2 separate regions of the Homo sapiens genome follow, and region 1 is linked to region 2. The links are contacts of gene promoters, found by promoter capture Hi-C in human tissues and cell types (Jung and others, 2019). All regions are on one chromosome and are shown on one strand. The core of a region is centred on a gene start or on the middle of the fragment in contact, and the rest is flanking DNA. Distances in the headings are between cores, read along the strand shown. Region 1 overlaps REC114 (REC114 meiotic recombination protein). Region 2 holds the start of HCN4 (hyperpolarization activated cyclic nucleotide gated potassium channel 4).

Region 1 (6,121 bases), core at 2,476-4,975, 99 kb after region 2:
ATTGAGTTAAGTTGGCCAACTCCTTTGTGACTCCTTGGAGGTTGAGAGACCGCTAGGAACTTCAGAGCACATAGTCTGGTCTGCCCATCTTCATGAGGTCCACCAATTTCTAGGGACTAGGCTCTCTCACAAGAACTGCAGCATTGTCTTTGCCTCAGGGCTCCTTGCTTAGTACCTCCTTTCTCCTGTAGGGGGAAAACGTCCTACTAGCTCTTTTTTTGTGGACCCTGAGACCTCAATCCACCCTTCTGGCTGTCTTGGATGATGTGTTTTTTGTTTGTTTGTTTGTTTGTTTTGAGATGGAGTCTCACTGTGTTGCCCAGTCTGGAGTGCAATATTGCAATCTCAGCTCACTGCAACCTCTGCCTCCCAGGTTCAAGAGATTCACCTGCCTCAGCCTCCTGAGTAGCTGGGATTACAGGTACCCACCACCACGCCCAGCTAATTTTTGTATTTTTAGTAGAGACAGGGTTTTGCCATCTTGGCCAGACTGGTTTCAAACTCCTGACCTCATGTGATCTGCCTGCTTCGGCCTCCCAAAGTGCTGGGCTTACAGGTGTGAGTCACTGTCCCCTGCCAGATGCTGGTCTTAATAATTGCTTAAGGAAAGGTAAATGGCATTTGGATTGGATTTGGAAAGAGAAGACTTCAGGGATGCAATGAAGCTACCATTTTTTCTTGAACCCCTTGGAAGTTCTTAAAATGGATATTTTCTAACTATATGAGCACATTATGTAGACCTTTTGGATGAGGGATTGCAACAGACATCTGAAAAATCATAAGCCTGGAATTCTCCTCCCCCAGCTACCTGGTTAACTTTCATACCTTTGGTCTTTGCTCAAGCCTCACCTTCTCAGATGCCTACCTTAACCTCTCTATTTATATTGTAACATCTGTGTCCTGTCTTTGCACTTTGATTCCACTTGTCCTGCTCTATTTCTTCCCTAGCTCTTAGCATTATCTCATATACTAGATAATTTTTTTATTTGCTATGTTCAGTGATGTGCCTAGAACATCTGACACCTAGAATGAATATTTTTTTAACATCTTCTTCCCCTGAATGATAAAATTATTTTCTGAAATAATCAAGTTAAATGAAAAATATTATGCAGCGGACATTCTCTCTTACTGAGTTTTGTTATAATAATTATGCCAAATAAATAGGAAAAATACAGTATAAGGCAGGAAAAAAAATCCACAACTATTTAGCCCATTGTTTTTATTTTATTTTATATTGTGTTATTTTATTTTATTTTGAGACGGAGTCTCGCTCTGTCACCCAGGCTGGAGTGCAGTGGCGCGATCTCAGCTCATTGCAACCTCTGCCTTCCGGGTTCAAGCGATTCTTCTGCCTCAGCTTCCTGAGTAGCTGGGACTACAGGTGCACACCACCACGCCTGGCTAATTTTTTCATTTTTTTAGTAGAGACGGGGTTTCACCAGTTGGTCAGGCTGGTCTCAATCTCCTGACCTCATGATCTGCCCACCTCGGCCTCCCAAAGTGCTGGGATTACAGGCATGAGCCACCGCACCCGGCCACCAATTGTTTTTATATCTAGTTAACTGTTTGAACTTGGATTCTGCAGTTACAGACTGATATTTTATGAAATTGTTCATTAACTAATAAGTGAAGTTTTTTTAAGTAAAATTAAGCATTTCCGACTGGGTTCGGTGGTGCATGCCTGTAATCCCAACACTTTGGGAGTCTGAGGCAGGTGGATCACGAGGTCAGGAGTTTGAGACCAGCCTGGCCAACATGGTGAAACCCCATCTCTACCAAAAATACAAAAAATTAGCCAAGTGTGGTGGTATGCACCTGTAATCCTAGCTACTCAGGAGGCTGAGGCAGGAGAATCACTTGAACCTGGGAGGCAGAGGTTGCAGTGAGCCAAGATGGTGCCATTGCACTCTAGCCTGGGTGACAGAGCAAGACTCCCGCTGGGGGAAGGAAAACAACAACAACAAAAACCTAAGCATTTCCAAAAGGTACAATTTACGCAACTATTAATAAAATTGTTGATATGTTTTATCCCCTCTTAACGTTCTTTAGTTTCAAAACACTTAATTTGAAGAGAATAAATTTCAATGTTAAAGATATTGTTCAAATTTAGTAAAATATTTTGTGAACTAAAATTTGCACTTATTAAATAAGTTACATCTTGCTATTTACACTTGCAACAGTGTTTTAAATTTTAGACAAATACCAAAAGGTCCCATAAAAATGACAGAATTGGAGTGCCTCAAGTTGTTTCTTGGTCTTTACAATCACTGTGCTATCTTTGTTTTATTTTGAATCTATCATTTAAATGCACAAGAATGTAGTACCACAGGGAGGGAAAAGCCAACTGCATCCTAAGAAAGGGTTGGATTAAGAACTTCATGTTAAGCAGTCTTCAGGTTTAAGAAAGCCTGGTGCACTGCTTTTGAAACAAGTGTATGTGCCTAAGTTTGCATGGATGGGGGTTAGCTGTAACTGGGAGTTTCCCCAATGAACTTATATGTAGACAACAATTTAAGAATAAATAACAAATCTGATATTTTGAAGCTTACATATATATTATTTAAACTCAGCAGTAACTGCAGTAATTATTTGGAACTTAGACCAACAAAATGTTTTTTTCAGGAAGGAGTATTTTTATCACTGACATTGATTAGAATTACTGGCACATGGTGGTAATAAACTGATTTTAGTCAGCTTTTTAATTGTTTATAAATTCTCTACAGACCAAGCATTGCTTTATTGCCAGCACCTGCAGTGTACTGCTCCCAACATCCCACCTTTGGTATGTCACTAATTATATTTGTTGTGTATTGTCTGTACTCTTGCTCTGCATCACCATTTCACACTTGCTCCATTAGGATTAGGATCTGTGTTTTGTTCAGTGATACTGCAATCATATATTTGTTGAATGAAGAATTAATGAAGTTCAAGTTCAGAGACTTTCTATGTCTTTTTTCTTCTCCATATTATAAGAGGGATCAGTACATAGTGGATACTTTGCTATTGTTAACTCACTGACTTAAATGCTTGGCATATAGTCTCTTTGGACTCTTGCATTTCTTGAAAAATTTGGAATTTTGATTGGGATTGGATAGATCAACTTGGAGAATTAGTGTCTGTACTAATTTCTTAGTGCTGCTGTAACAAGCTATAAACTTAGTGGCTTAAAACAACGCAAACATTAGCTTATAGTTCTAGAGGTCAGAAATTTGAAATGGGTTTATTGAGCTAAAATCAAAGTGTCAGGAGGACTGCATTCCTTCTGGAGGCTCAAGAATCTTTTTTTTTTTTTCCTGGCCTTCTCTAACACGTAGAGGTTGCCTGCATTCCTTAGTTTGTTACCCACCTTCCATCCTCAATGCCAGCAATCACATTCCTTCTGACTCTTTCTGCCTCCCTCTTTCTCTTGTAAGGATGCTTCTGATTACAATAGGTTCACCTGGATAATTCAGGGCTATCCCTCCAGCTCAAGATATTTTAACTTAATCACATATGCAAAATCCCTTTGCTATGTAAGATAACATATTACAGGTTCCGGGTATTAGGACATAGACATCTTTAGGGGGACCGTTGTTCTGCCTATTACAGCATTTTAATAATATTAAATCTTCCTATCTGTGAACAAAATATTTCTCTCCATATATTTAAGTGTTCTTAAATTTCTCTCAATTTTCAATGTGCTGGTCTTCTTTTGTCATATTTATCCCTTAGTATTTTATATTTTTGATGTTGTAAATTTTGATGCTTTTAAAATTTCAGGTTCTAGTTCTTCATTAGTGTATGTAAATGCAATTGGTTTTTATTTATTGATCTTCTATTCTGTAACCTTTCTAAAATTCACTTATTCTAGTAAAATCAACTGGATTTTCTACATAGATGATCATGTTGTCTGTGAATAAAGACAGTTTTACTTCTTTCCAATCTGGATGCTTTTTCATTCTTTTTCCTGTCTGATTACAGTGGTAAGAACTTGCGGTAACAATGTTGAATAGAAGTGGTGAAAGTGGACATCTTGTCTTGTTTCTTATCTTAGGGAGAAAGCTTTCAGTATGAAGTTAGCTGTAGTTTTTTTTTTTTTTTTAATAGATGCCCTTTATCAGCTTGAGGAAGTTACTTCTATTCCTGGTTTGCTGAGTTTTAAAATCAGGAATAGATGTTGGATTTTGTCAAATGTTTTTTCTGCATTCTCTCATATTGAGGTGATCATATGGTTTTTCTTTTTTAATATGTTAACATGGTGAATAACTTTGAGTTCACAATATTTCTGATTTCCCTTTTAATTTCTTATTTACCCATGAGTAAATAAGAATATTTGGGGCTTTTTTTCAGAGACCTGTTTTTGATTTCTAATTTAATTCATCTGTGCTCAGGTAACATTCTCTTAAATCAACCAGAACTTGTTCTGTGGCTTAGAATATAGTCTTTGTGAATGCTCTGTGTATACTTGAGAAGAATGTGTTTTGTGTTGGTGTTAGATGGAGTGTTCAATAAATGTCGATCAATCATGTTGGTTGACAGTTGCTCAAGTCTGCTATATACTTGGTGATTTGCTATGTGCTTTTTCTATCAGTTATTGAGAGAGGGGTATTAAAATCTGACTGTAATTGTGAACTTGTCTGTTTCCCCTTACAGTTCTATCACTTACTGCTTCGTGTATTTTTAAGCTCTGTATTGGAGGAATACATGTTTGGGATGATTATCTTTCTTGATTAATTGACCCTTTTATTATTTGAAATGACCTTCTTTGTAACCTTTTGATATTCTTGTCTAATATTAATAAAACCACTCCAGTTTTTATTTTTTATTTTTATCTTTTTAGTGAAAGAGTCTCACTCTGTTACCCAGGCCTCTGGGTGCAGTGTGCAGAGTGCAGTGGTGCAATCATAGCTTACAGCAGCCTCGAACTCCTGAGCTCAAGTGATCCTTCTGCTTCAGCCTCCCAAGCAGCTGGGACTACAGGCGTGTACCACCGTGCCTGGCTAATTTTTACATTTTCTGTAGAGATCAAGTCTTGCCATGTTGCCCAGGCTGATCTCAAATTCCTGGCCTTAGGCAAGCCTTAGACTCTTTTTTTTTTTTTTTTTTTTTTAAGACTCCGTCTCCCTCCTTTGCCCAGGCTGGAGTGCAGTGGCGCGATCTTGGCTCACTGCAAGCTCCACCTCCTGGGTTCACGCCATTCTCCTGCCTCAGCCTCCCGAGTAGCTGGGACTACAGGTGCCCGCCACCATGCCCGGCTAATTTTTTGTATTTTTAGTAGAGATGGGGTTTCACTGTGTTAGCCAGGGCAAGCCTGTGCTGAGATTGTAGGAGTGAGCCACTGTGCCTGGCCTTACTCTAGCTTTTGACTAGCATTAGCTTGGTATATATTTTTTCTATCCTTTTGTTTTTAACCTGTTTGTTTTTATATTTAAAGTGCATTTCTTGTAGGCAGCATATAGCTTGTTTTGTCTTTTTTATCCAATCTGACAACCTCTGCCTTTAATTGAGGTGTTTACATTTAAATGTACTATTATATTTAATATGATTATTGATAGGGTTGGGTTTCAGTCTGTTATCTTGCTATTTGTTTTATAATTTTCCCATCTGTTCTTTGTTCCCTTTTAATTTTGATCTTGCCTTTCGTTTGGATAAATTGAATATTGTTTATCAATATAATCCCATTTATCAGTTATCTTTTAAAGATATTTAGGTAAAATTTTTATGCATTTGCCCATGTAATTATTATTTCCTGCACTCTTCATTCTTTTGTGGAGATCTTAGTTTTTATCTGATAACATTTTCTTTCTTCCTGAAGGACTTCCTTTCACATTTCTTTCAGTGCAGATCTGCTGGTGATGAATTCTTTCTGAAGACATCTTTATTTCCTTTGAAAATTTTGCATCTTAATATGGTGCCTTCATTTAAAAGTTCTTATTTACTTAACCATCCAACAAAATATTGGGTGTCTATTGTGTGCCAGGTACTATCCTAGGCATTTGAATATAACAGTGTCCAAAACGGGGAAAAAAAAATCTCTATCTTCATGGAGCTTAATTTCTGCTCAGGGAAGACTAGTAACAAGTAAATATAACAAAGTGGTAAGAGCTATGGATAAAAATAAAGCTGGAGAAGGGAATAGGAG
Region 2 (5,862 bases), core at 1,642-4,141:
TCACACAATTTGATGACTATGGCTGTCTGTTTAGCCTGCCCTCTGGTCTCCCTAGTCTTCTGGGAATGGGAACCCTGGAGATATTAGGGTTAGGAAGAGCAGTCTGTCAAAGGAAAAAAGGGGGGAGGGGCTCTGTTCACTACCTATTTTAAGCCACCGAGTGTTGTCTGACTGGTCATTCCCAGTGCGAGAAATCTCTCTCATTGGATGGAAAATGGCTTTGCTCTCATTACAAACCCAGCTTCCCTGGAGTTTGCAAAGAGGGCTCTGGGTTGGCAAAATGCTCATTTTTATAGGCAGGCAACTAAGGTAGGCAAGGAAGGGAGATAAGTAGGCGGCAGGGCCCAGAGAAAGAGAGAATGAGAGAATTAAACCCAGCTTGAAAAGTGTTTCCCAGACCTTCATCACAATCTCATGCATCACGAAAGCCCAGAGGGGCACTAGGGAACCTTAGGACCTTGACTTAGGTAAAGGCATCCCTGATCCCAACCCTAGAAACAACCAACAATCCCTCTTTTTGCACAAATATGCCCACAAGCTCCCAGTGGTATCTGCTGTTCAGTGGCATCCGACTCAAGTGATGTGGAAGGGGGCAGGGTCCCTCTCCCTGACTGGCAGTCATACCTTGTTTGGGGACCCACGAGTGGCCCATGAGAGACCAAGCAGATGCTGGAGCTTGGGTCTCTGGGGTATGGATGGGCCACTGGACAAGCATGGGACACAGGACAGCTGCTCATCAGTCAGAACACCAGGCATCTTCACCCATCACTATGAGCAAGGTCATTCAGCCCTGCCGCTCTGGATGCCAGCTGCCCAGGGTGCCTGCTCTTGGCCCACCACTCAGCATGAGGAGCTGAGCTCAGGGTTACGGTGGGTGCAGGGGGTTTTCATCCCGGCCTGAGGCCCCAGTGACTTCGGTCCTCCAGGGACCCGGCCGCAGCTTCCCAGGGCACCAGAAAGCAGACATAAATGCCTGCTGTCAGCACCCAAGGAGCTGGCCCGTTGCTAAGAGGTCTGTCTCTCTTCACGGCCCTGCTCTGCAGGCTGAATGACCCGGAGCTGCCTCTAGGATGGCCATCCTGACTCTGCAGCCTTGAAGGGGGAGGAGGAATATGTGGCTTAAGGTGGCAGAGCCCTATCCTGGCTGCCGGCAGGGGTAGGCCAGGCTCAGAACACCTTTTCATTCTGTCTCCAATGCAGCCCAGACCCGAGAAGACCAGTGACTGAACCCAGAGGAAAGTTCCCCCAGCGCGGTGCAGGAGGGGGCCTGGGGGTGTCTCGGAGCCTAGAGGCGCCCTGCCTCTCTTGGAGCTCCCAGCGCAAGGCAGGAAAGTTAACTCCGGCTGGGAGGCAGGGTCAGGAGGAGGCATGCCTGCCACCGCGCAGGGCACCCACAGGATCATCGCTGTGGCCCCTTACCTGAAGTCACTGTAGGGGTGGATAATCCAAAATCCGGCCGACTTGACCCTCTCCTGTTCGCGCTCCACGGCTTTCTGGCTGCCGAACATCCTTAGGGAGAATTTGTTGACCCCGGGTTGGAGCATGGCCCCGAACTGGCGCTGCATGAAGCCGGCCTGGCCCAGGCGCACCTCGGCCTCCGGGAGGATCTGGTCGCCGGCAGCCGCGCCTCCCTCCACTTTGATAGCGGTGTCCACCGAGGGCTGCTCGCAGGAGGCGGAGGCCGGCTGCGGTGGCTGCTGGGGCGGCGGCGGCGAGGCTGCGGGCTGCGCCGAGGCGCCGGGGCGCTCGGGCTCGGCCGCCAGGCCTGGGGGCGTCCTGTCCTCGCCGGGGGACGCGTCGCCCTCGGCGATGAGCCGCCGCTCCTCCGCGGAGTCATGCAGGTGTCCGTGACTGCTGCCGCTCCCCGTGCCGCCGCTGCCGCCGCCCCGGCTGCCCAGCGAGGCCAGGCTCCCGCGGAAGCGCCTGCAGTCGCCGTTCGTGCTGGACTTGCCCGCGCCGCGGGCCGGCCCTTCGCTGTCCGCTGCCCCGAGGGCCGAGCTCCGGGACTCCGTGCCACCCGCGGCCGCCGAGGGGGAGGGCGAGGGCAGTGGCCGCAGCCGGATGCTCCTGCGGCTGGGGTCTTGGCGGCCCCCGGCCCCCTCCTCCTCGGCGTCCTCTTCCTCGTCCATGATCCACGCCTTGGCCCCCACCTGCTGCGGGAGGCTGTAGAGCCGCTTGCGCATGGACGGCGGCAGCTTGTCCATGGCGCCAGGGGCCGGGGTCGGACCGGGCCGGGGGCAGGAGCGCGGCGCCGCGGACGGGCTCCAGGTCCGCCCGCCGGTCAGTCCGCCCGTGGGGACGCGTCCTTTGCCGCCGGCGTGGGGGCAGCCTCAGGCGCCCATGCTTGGGCAGGCTGCGCGCCGCGGGGAGGATCCTAGTCCCGCTCCGAGTCCCCGGGCTCGCCGCGCTACACCTCCTCCCGGGCCCGGCTGGGCGCGGGGACCCCGCGCTCCCTTCTTGCCTCCCTCCCTCCCTCTGGCGTTCAGGGGCGCGGCGCGCCGCCCGGCTCCAGGCGCCCCGCCCCCGCGGGGAACAATGGGCGCCGGCCGGAGAGGCTCTGCGGCCGCGGCGCTCAGGGAACCGCTCCGGAGTGCAGAGCGCACGGCCCGCGCGGGTCCCGGGCGTGCGTCCCGCGGGAGGGCTGGCTGTCCGTCTGTCTCGCCGCCCGGGCTTTGTGGCTGGCCACCCGCGAGCTCGCCTCGCCTCCTCTGCCCCGGCCCGTCCGGCCCGTCCCGGGGCTCCCGCCGCAACCGAGCGGAGCCCAGCGACCCGCCGGGCTTACATCAGCGGCCGCCTCCCCCGAAGCGCCCTCCGGCAGCGCTCGGGCTCCCGCGCCCCGGAATATTCATGAAGCCGCCGCAGCTCGCGGGTTGCCATAGGAGCGGCTCCAGCAGCCGGGCCTGCCTACCTGGGCTTCTTAAAGGGGCAGCGGCGCACGGGCCGGGGGCTGGAAAGGGGCGGGGGGCGGGCCTGGCAAGGGGCCCAGGTTAGACCCTCGCTAGACCTTCGGGGCCGGGGTGAGAGGTATCCACACTGCTGCGCCCTTAAATCTCTTTCCTGGGCTAAGCTGGGAGTGCGCCCCAAGTCTGAAGCTCCGGCTTCAGTTGCGAATTCCCCATCCTAAGATTGAAGGGTGGGGGGTGGCTTCCCAATTTCTCCATCACCAAGCTCTGGGCTCGCCTTTCCCTGGCATTTTTGCCCCTCAGCTGGGTCTCCGACTTTCCTCTTGGGAGGCGACCGGGTTCGTCTGGATGCAGAGTCCCGGCCTTCCCGCAACCCTCCTGGAGAGGGGGCTTCCGGAAATGCGCCGCGTCGGGGAGGCTCCCACGGTTTTCCTGTGACATGGGCAGGGTGCGAACCCCGCGCCAGTCTTTCCCCTGCAAAGCCTCGCAGCAGCCAGGCAAGGAGGGCGTGGGGAAACAGGGAGACACGCACAGGGCGCGCGGGTGGGACCCAGCCCTTCGAGGTAAGACTTCGAGGAAATGCGCCGGCAACAGTGACGGATGCGAGATCCGAACGCCGACCTCCGCACGCGCCTCTCCCTCGGTAGTTCCGAGAAAGGGACAAGCCGGCTGCAGCGGGGAGCGGTTGGGCCGGTTCCTCGGACGCCCCAGCACTCTGGAACTGGCTTTGGAGCCCCTTCTCCCTGTGTTCCCATCCACATTATGACACCTACTATGTGGACCCACGCTGGGTGAGTTCCTGTTCCACCCAGTCCCCTACCTGCACCCCCAAGCAGCTGCACAGCCCCCACTCCCTTCCAGTCTGCAGCCCAGCCCCCTTCCCCCCAACCCCCGCCAAGGATCCAACTGTGTGTCCTCTCTCCCAGTCTCTCCCAGTGTACAGTGTCCGGGCTTATGGACAGATTTCACTAGCTCAGCCTAAGGTATAGCCCTACCCCCTCCAACACCATGGACAGCCTGATACCCCAGATTAGCTCAGAAATGGATAGGGGGACAGATTGGGCATTAAGGGGAGGGGAGTTGTCCAGAGAAGGCTGGAGCCGAGGTTAATGCTGGAGCGGACACACAGCAAAGTCTCACAGGAGGGAGGCAAAAAGGTCCCCTGGCTCTGCCATCTCTCTGAGGAATAACATCAAGTTTTTCTTCAAATGATTTTTTTACTCTCATTCTTAGCCCAATGTGACCACTTTCGCCTCCTCCATCCAGAGTAGGAATTTGGAGAGCAGGATGCGGGGCGGGCAGCCTAGCAGGGGCTCTTCTGCTCTACCCACTGGACCACAGGACCTCCCACAGTGAGAGGAATGACTAGGGTGATGACATCACTGGTAGCTGGCATTTTTACTTTTGAGCAGCTCTGAGCTGACAGTTCTCTGCACAGATGCTGGAAGCCTAATCCCTGAGTGTCCTTGGGTCTCCTTGAGAAGAAGTGTTCTTAAAGAGCTGTGAGCCCAGCCTGCCCTGGTCTACCAGCCACAGGAGGGAAGACCTCCATTTAACACACTTCTTTGAGCTTCTTTGTCTAGCTGGGAGTTAGTCTGCCTTAACCCCGCTCAGGAAGTCAGCCCATATAGGCTTCCCCATGACCTATGGTAGAGACATCTCCTCCTCTGGGAACCCTTTCCTAATCACCAAAACCTTGGTCATGTCCCTGCCTTTGGTTCCCATGGCCCATTAGCTCCTGTGACCCTGAGCACTGATTACACAGTGCAGTCTGTGCCCTGAGGGTGGAGCAGGTCCACCTTATCTCAGGGACCTCTCCACCAACACAAGGGTGGACAGAAAGCAGATTAATAAGTTTCAACTCTACAAATGAGTGAGGGACCCTAGAAGTTAGCTAATGGCATTGGAGGGGATGCTTGGAGGAGATGGAGGATAAGACCAAAATTCTGCTTCCTGGGATACTGCTGCCACAGGCCGGCCAGGGGTCAGGATCTCTTAATTCCACCCTACCAGCACCTCACTCGCCCTCAATTTCATTAGTGGCACCCATTCACGACCATCTAGGACCAACTTTAGGTGCAGCAATGACTATTAGATAAATCAGGCCCTTGATAAACCCTGATGAGATCTGGCTTCTCCTGCCTCCTTTATGTGGAAACCCTAATGGAGGACACTGGTGGTGTGCCAACAGTCCAGGGGACAGAGGAGGAGCAGCCCCAGGTCTTGCCCTTGATGGGCTTCAAGTTGTGAGGAAGCTAGACTCATTCTCAGGAATAGGGCATGAAAATAGAGCAGGAAAACTGAAGACAGGAAAGAAATGTATATTAAATCATGTCCCCAACCATGAGAGATTTCAGAGGGAGCTATTGCTGGCCTTGGAGTAGCTAGGGAGGGTTTCCTGGAGGAGGGGGCCAGACTTGATGAGAGACATATATCTAACACTTTACAGTTTACACCTTTTTGTTGTTAAACCACATGAAATTTTGATTTTTGTGAGCCCAATATTGTCAAATTTTGGCAATTTCACGTGAGTCAACCTGACATTCTTACTCCCATTTGCAGGCAAGAGAACTAAAGCACAGAGAGGTCAAGAGGCTTGCCAAATGCCCCATAGCAAGAAAATGGTGAAGCTAGAATTCAAGGGCTCCACAGGGCAGGCTGTGCTCTACTGCCCATCTGCTCATGCAGGTGGGGTAGGGGGCAGGCACAGATGGAGGAAGGAGAAGGAGAGAGAAGGTAAAGAATGGGGAGAGAATAAATAGGACTCCCACATTCTGTAATCTCCCCATTGCTCCACCTGGGTCTCACACCCTCTCCTTTCCAGCACTGCCTAGAAGGCCTGGGGTCTGCTCTGGTTCCTTTGATAACATGGTAGCCAGGCCCTGGGGACCCCAGCAAGGGGAAGGCCCTGTCTCAGGACTGAAATATATGGAGAAGACCTGCTGCTCTCACCATGGGT

What was found. Contacts are between HindIII fragments. The study calls those that stand out against the background at their distance.
Region 1: a contact is called between a fragment that was not itself captured here and the fragment with the promoter of HCN4 in region 2, in 5 of the 25 tissues and cell types used here (IMR-90 fibroblasts, aorta, liver and 2 more).

Annotation. Positions count from the first base shown.
Region 1 is chr15:73,464,614-73,470,734 of GRCh38, forward strand. All of the region lies in intron 1 of REC114 (REC114 meiotic recombination protein), which reads left to right. Among named protein-coding and RNA genes, the nearest start is that of REC114, 25 kb to the left of the region's middle. The HindIII fragment of the contact is 5,641 bases long and covers 906-6,121 here.
Region 2 is chr15:73,366,067-73,371,928 of GRCh38, forward strand. It overlaps HCN4 (hyperpolarization activated cyclic nucleotide gated potassium channel 4), which reads right to left and starts at 2,892. Exons shown (of 8, transcript NM_005477.3): 1 at 1,420-2,892. The coding sequence starts at 2,204. The HindIII fragment of the contact is 7,967 bases long and covers 1-5,862 here.